2 separate regions of the Homo sapiens genome follow, and region 1 is linked to region 2. The links are contacts of gene promoters, found by promoter capture Hi-C in human tissues and cell types (Jung and others, 2019). All regions are on one chromosome and are shown on one strand. The core of a region is centred on a gene start or on the middle of the fragment in contact, and the rest is flanking DNA. Distances in the headings are between cores, read along the strand shown. Region 1 has its middle 32 kb from the start of PABPC4-AS1. Region 2 holds the start of NDUFS5 (NADH:ubiquinone oxidoreductase subunit S5).

Region 1 (2,884 bases), core at 106-2,605, 510 kb before region 2:
AATTTTGGGATAAGCTTATCAACTCGTATGAAAAAAGCCAGCTAGGATTTTAATACAGATTGCACTGAATGTGAAGAATTTAGGAGTATCATCATCTTAACAATATTAAGTCTTCTGATCCATGAACACAGGATATCTTTTCATTTGTTTAGGTCTTCTTCAGTGTTTTTCAGTAATGTTCTTTGGTTTTCTTTTTTTTTTTTTTTTAATTGGGATGGGGTCTTGCTATGTTATCTAGGCTGGTCTCGAACTCCAGGGCTCAAGCAATCCTGCCACCTTGTCCTCCCAAAATGCTGGGATTATAGATGTAAGCCACCATGCCTAGCGAGTCAGAATTCTTTAAATATTTTAGATACAGGTCTCTTATCAGATGTATAATTTGCAAATAGTTTCTCTCATTCTTTTTTTTTTTTTTTTAGACAGGGTCTCACTGTATTGCCCAGGCTGGAGTGCAGTGGTGCAATCACAGCTCACCACAGTCTTGGAACTCCTGTACCCAAGTGGTCCTTATGTTTCAGCTTTACAACTAGTTGGAACTATAGGCACACACCACCACACCTGGCTAATTTTAAAAAATATTTTTGTAGACAGCTGTGACTGCACCATTGCACTCCAGCCTGGACAACAGAGCAAGACTCTTCTAAAAAAAATACACACACATATATATATAGCAATTATATTTCTTTTCTTATTTTTGAGACAGAGTCTTGCTATGTCGCCCAGGCTGGAGTGCAGTGGCAGCATCTCAGCTCACTGCAAGCTCCACCTCCCGGGTCCACGCCATTCTCCTGCCTCAGCCTCCTGAGTAGCTGGGACTACAGGCGCCCGCCACCACGCCGAGCTAATTTTTTGTATTTTTAGTAGAGATAGGGTTTCACCATGTTAGCCAGGATGGTCTCGATCTCCTGACCTTGTGATCTGCCCGCCTCGGCCTCCCAAAGTGTTGGGATTACGGGTGTGAGCCACCGTGCCTGGCCGTAGATATAGCAATTATATTTCTATACATCAGCAATGAACAACCTGAAAACAGAATAAAAAGAAAAACAATTATACTTACAATAGCATAAAAAAGAATAAAATATTTAGGAATAAGTTTAAAAGATGTATACAGCTTATACTTTGAAAACCACAAAACAGGCCAGGCATGGTGGTTCACACTCATAATCCCAGCACGTTGGGAGACTGAAGTGGGAAAATCACTTGAGTCCAGGAGTCTGAGACCAGCCCGAGTCAACATAATGAGACCTCATCTCTACAAAAATATATATAATCAATTGTATATTGATTTTGTATTCTGCAACATTGCTAAACTTGTTTAATAGTTCTTTTTTTTTTCTTTTTTTGAGATGGAGTCTCACTCTGTCGCCCAGGCTGGAGTGCGGTGGCACGATCTCAGCTCACTGCAACCTCCACCTCCCAGGTTCACGCCATTTTCCTGCCTCAGCCTCCTGAGTAGCTGGGACTACAGGCGCCCGCCACCACGCCTGGCTAATTTTTTGTATTTTTAGTAGAGATGGGGTTTCACCGTGTTAGCCAGGATGGTCTCAATTTCCTGACCTTGTGATCCGCGCACCTTGGCCTCCCAAAGTGCTGGGGTTACAGGCGTGAGCCACCATGCCCGGCCTGTTTATTAGTTCTAATAGTTTTTTTTGTGGATTTTTTAGGATTTTCTATATGCAAGAGTGTGTCATCTGCAAATAGAAATAGCTTTACATTTTCCTTGCCGATTGGATGCCTTTCATTTCATTTTTTTCACCTAATTACCCTGGCTAGAACCTTCAGTACAATGTTGAATAGAAGTGTCAAGGGCAGATATCCTCGTCTTGTTCCTGACCTTAGGGGGAAAGCATCTTGTCTTTCACATGTAGTTTTCTGTTGATACCTTTTATCAGATTGAGAAAGTTCCCCCTTCCACTCCTAGTTTATTGAGTTTTCATTATGAAAAGGTGTTGGATTTTGTCTACTGCTTTTTCTGTATCTGAGATGATTATGTGGTTTTTGTTCTTTATACTATTGATAATTGTCTATTACATTGATTGATTTTTAGATGTTAAACCAACTTTGCATTCCTGAGATGAATCCACATCTTTTTTGGGTGGCTGTATTTCACTAGATTGTGAGCTCCACCACTGTTAGGGCCAGTGTCCCCAGGGGGCAGGTAGGGGTGGATGTCCCTAAAGTCTGTCTTTATTCTGCTCCTTCACTCCCCTGAGTGTCCCCTCTTCTATTCTGTCTGCAAAGGCAAGGATGGGAAGCCAAGGCAGAAGGTGATCATTGGCAACTGTGGGGAGTATGTGTGAGGCGGCACTCTCTCTGCTCTCCACTCTGCTCTTGCCCCTGCACATCCAGGAAGGAGCTGCCAGCCTCAGAGGAGGCAGCACCGAGGGTGCCCTATTTGAAGCAAGCAGGATTTGTGGCATGAGGCCCACCTTAGGGTCAGCTTGGAGCACCTCTGTAGGCACAGCCTGGACTGTTCCCAAGTGCAGCTGTGGGCCCACGAACCAGCACAGGTGCTCCTTCTCCAACCACCACTTTTCTCGGCATTTGCTGCTGGGTCTGCTGTGGGCCCACCAATGTGGCTCCTGGATGTTTTGTTCTCTTTGGTTTGCTAAAATAAATTCTAGTTCTTATACTGCTGCCTGCCAGCCAGGTCCCAGGTGTTTTCAGAGGTTGCTGCTGGGACAGGCCATAGCATCTCGGCTGCTGCTCTTCTCTCTTAGGCCAAGTCCCTTAGGAGATGCCCTCGGCAGCCCATTGTGGGGCAGTAGAAGTCAAAGCCATGTAAAAGTGCCTGTGTCTTTTCTTTCTGGTCAGTTACCATTCCTGCTCTCACACCAGCTGGTCTTGTGCCTGATGGACATTTGTAATCAGTCTCACTGACCTG
Region 2 (2,995 bases), core at 43-2,542:
TGGCCACTGCACTCCATCCTGGGCAACAAAGCGAGATCCTGTCTCAAAAAAAAAAAAAAACCAGAGCGAAAGAAATGGGTTAAGACTTACTTTGTAGACTATTACAGACAGTAGGGAAAAAAATTTACATGCAAATACATAATAATGTTAAATGTAAAAACACACACACAAAAACAAACCCTGACTGCCTAAAATGACTGAAAGGAAGCGCGCGCACACCCACAAATATCAATATAAATGTGTACTCATGGTAGATTTAAAGGTGAATTTAGTTGGGCGCAGTGGCTCACGCCTGTAATTCCAGCACCTTGGGAGGCCGAGGCGGGCGGATCACCTGAGGCCGCGAGTTCAAGACCAGCCTGACCAACATGGCGAAACCCTCTCTCTACTAAAAAAATACAAAATTAGCCGGGCGTGGGGGCGCATGCCTGTAATCCCAGCTACTCGGGAGTCTCAGGGAGGAGAATCGCTTGAATCCGGGAGGCAGAGGCTGCAGTGAGCCGAGATCGCGCCACTCTGCACTCCAGCCTGGGCAACAAGAGCGAAACTCCATCTCAACAAAAAGGTGAATTTAACTTCTTAAGTTCCTTCCCATCCCTCAGTCATCATTTACTGAGTAGTTACGTTCCAGGCACTCAGATGCGGGGGAAAGCAGCTCCAACGTAAGCACCAGAGACACACACTCGGAATTGCGAATACACTGCAAGGAACACGAGTGGGTAAGAGCTCGAAGGAGGAAGCACGAACTCTGCCCGGAGACTTGAAAATGCCTTTAACATGGCTTGCGAGTTCGCCAAGTGAAGATCAGTGGGCAGAGTGTTCCAGTTGGGCAACAGCCCGGAGTTACAGCCGGAAGTGCTGGCTATGTTTGGGGGACAATGGAGCGCAGCGTGCATGACGGTGAAAAGAATGAAATGAGCTCAGGAGGCCGGCGGGGCCGAAATCACGCAGAGCCTGGAAAGCTGGGATAAGGATCGTAGACTTTAGGTTAAGAAACAGAAAGCCAAAACATTAGTCCGGCAAAAACCTAAACAAATGTGGAAAGTGGAGAGAGCGGCAATCTCCAGGCTTCGGTGCCATTAGCTGTGGAGGTGAAGCGGCCTGGGAGGGCAGGGAACACGCCCTGAGTTCAGGTCTGGGAGAAGGGGACACACAGCAAGCCAAGAGGAAATCTGTTAAAGAGACCTCGGAAGGAAGGTCCTTAAGCTAAGCTGCCGCGCGGACATAAGCAGCCCCTACCTACCCGATGCTCGTGCCCTTGACTCTTCTCTGGCCGCCGCTTCAGAACGACTAGCTAGCGACGCGGACGCCTGCCGTAAAGGATGACCTCAGCGAGACGTTTGCAGCGCGACGCCGGAAGCCGACCTTCCCTCAGCCGTCTCCCCACAAAACCATAGAAACCGAGCCCGTTGGCCTGGTACGGTGGCTGACGTCTGCAATCCCAGCACCTTGGAAGGCTGAGGGAGGAAGATCACTTCAGCCCAGGAGTTCGAAAACAGCCTGGGCAACATGGCGAAACTCCCCTCTCTACAAAAAATAAAAAATTAGCCGGGCGAGGTGGTGCATGCCTGTGGTTCCAGCTACTCAGGAGGTTGAGGTGGGAGGATCCCTTGAGCCCAGGAGATTGAGGCTGTAGTGAGCCATGATCACACCATTCCATTGCATTCCAGCCCTGGCAACAGAGCAAGACCTTATCTCAGGGGGAGAGTGAGAGAGAGAGGATGAAGAAGAGAGAGAGGAGGTAGAGAGAGAGAAAGGAAAAAAAACCCAAACCCATCAATTACAGAGACACAGGGAAGGCCTAGCCATTAGTGAGTTCTTGCTCCTTTCTTGCACTCTGCCTAGCATGCTCACGACAACACTGAGTGGTGAGAGACTTCACCAAAGTCACAGGAGAGAAAGAACACTGGCTCCCTGCCTACCCACTAGTGGTTAAGCACATGGACTATGAGCCCAAACCACCACGTGGGGTCAAATGTAGGCCCCCAGCCGGGCGCAGTGGCTCAGGCCTGTAATCCCAGCACTATGGGAGGCCGAGGTGGGCGGATCACAAGCTCAGGAGATCGAGACCATCCTGGCCAATATGGTGAAACCCTGTCTCTACTAAAAATACAAAAATTAGCTGGGTGTGGCAGCGAGTGCCTGTAATCCCAGCTAGTGGGGGGAGGCCGAGGCAGGAGAATCGCTTGAATCCGGGAGGCGGAGGTTGCAGTGAGGTGAGATCGCGCCACTGGACTCCAGCCTGGCGACAGAGCTAGATTCAGTCTCAAAAAAAAAAAAAAAAAAAAAAAAAAAAAAAAAAAAAAGTAGGCCCCCACCAATTTCGTGTGACTCTAGGAAAGTTTCTTAACTTCATTGTGCCTCAGTCTCCTCGTCTGTTAAGATAATTATGGTATTCACAATGGAGGCTTGCTATAGGGATTAACTGATTTATGTATAAAGCACTGAGGCGGTGGCTAGCACATGGGAAACATTCCAAGGCAGTCGCAGTTCTTTGATGTCTCAGCTTTCAGTTTGTGAATCAACTGCTACCATGCCTGTCATCTGTTCCAGAACCTCCAATGACTCCCTTTGACTACATCAGAGACTCTAAAGTGTTGTGTGTATGTCTTTGGGGGGTGGACCACAGGGTGCATGAGATATTATACATTGGAGGTATGGGAGGAAAATACTAGAACATATATATATATATATATATATATATATATATATATATATATATAAATATATATATATATAATTATTACTTTTGAGACAGATTCTCACTCCCATTGCCCCGCTGGAGTGCAGTGGTGCAATCACAGTTCACTGCAGCCTCAACCTCCCTGGGCTCTGGTGATCCTCCCACCTCAGCCTCCCAAATAGCTGGGACCACATGTGCATGCCACCATGTGCCTGGCAGTCTTTATTATAATTATTATTTTATTTGAGATAGGGTCTCACTCCATCACCCAGGCTGGAGTGCAGTAGTGCTATCATAGATCACTGCAGCCTC

The links. Contacts are between HindIII fragments. The study calls those that stand out against the background at their distance.
Region 1: a fragment that was not itself captured here is called in contact with the fragment with the promoter of NDUFS5 in region 2 in 1 of the 25 tissues and cell types used here (aorta).

The regions. Positions count from the first base shown.
Region 1 is chr1:39,531,254-39,534,137 of GRCh38, reverse strand. It overlaps the pseudogene PPIEL. Among named protein-coding and RNA genes, the nearest start is that of PABPC4-AS1, 32 kb to the left of the region's middle. The HindIII fragment of the contact is 7,857 bases long and covers 1-2,884 here.
Region 2 is chr1:39,024,647-39,027,641 of GRCh38, reverse strand. NDUFS5 (NADH:ubiquinone oxidoreductase subunit S5) reads right to left here and starts at 1,292. Exons shown (of 3, transcript NM_004552.3): 1 at 1,240-1,292. RefSeq lists enhancers at 179-764, 765-1,351, 1,211-1,460. The HindIII fragment of the contact is 8,915 bases long and covers 1-2,995 here.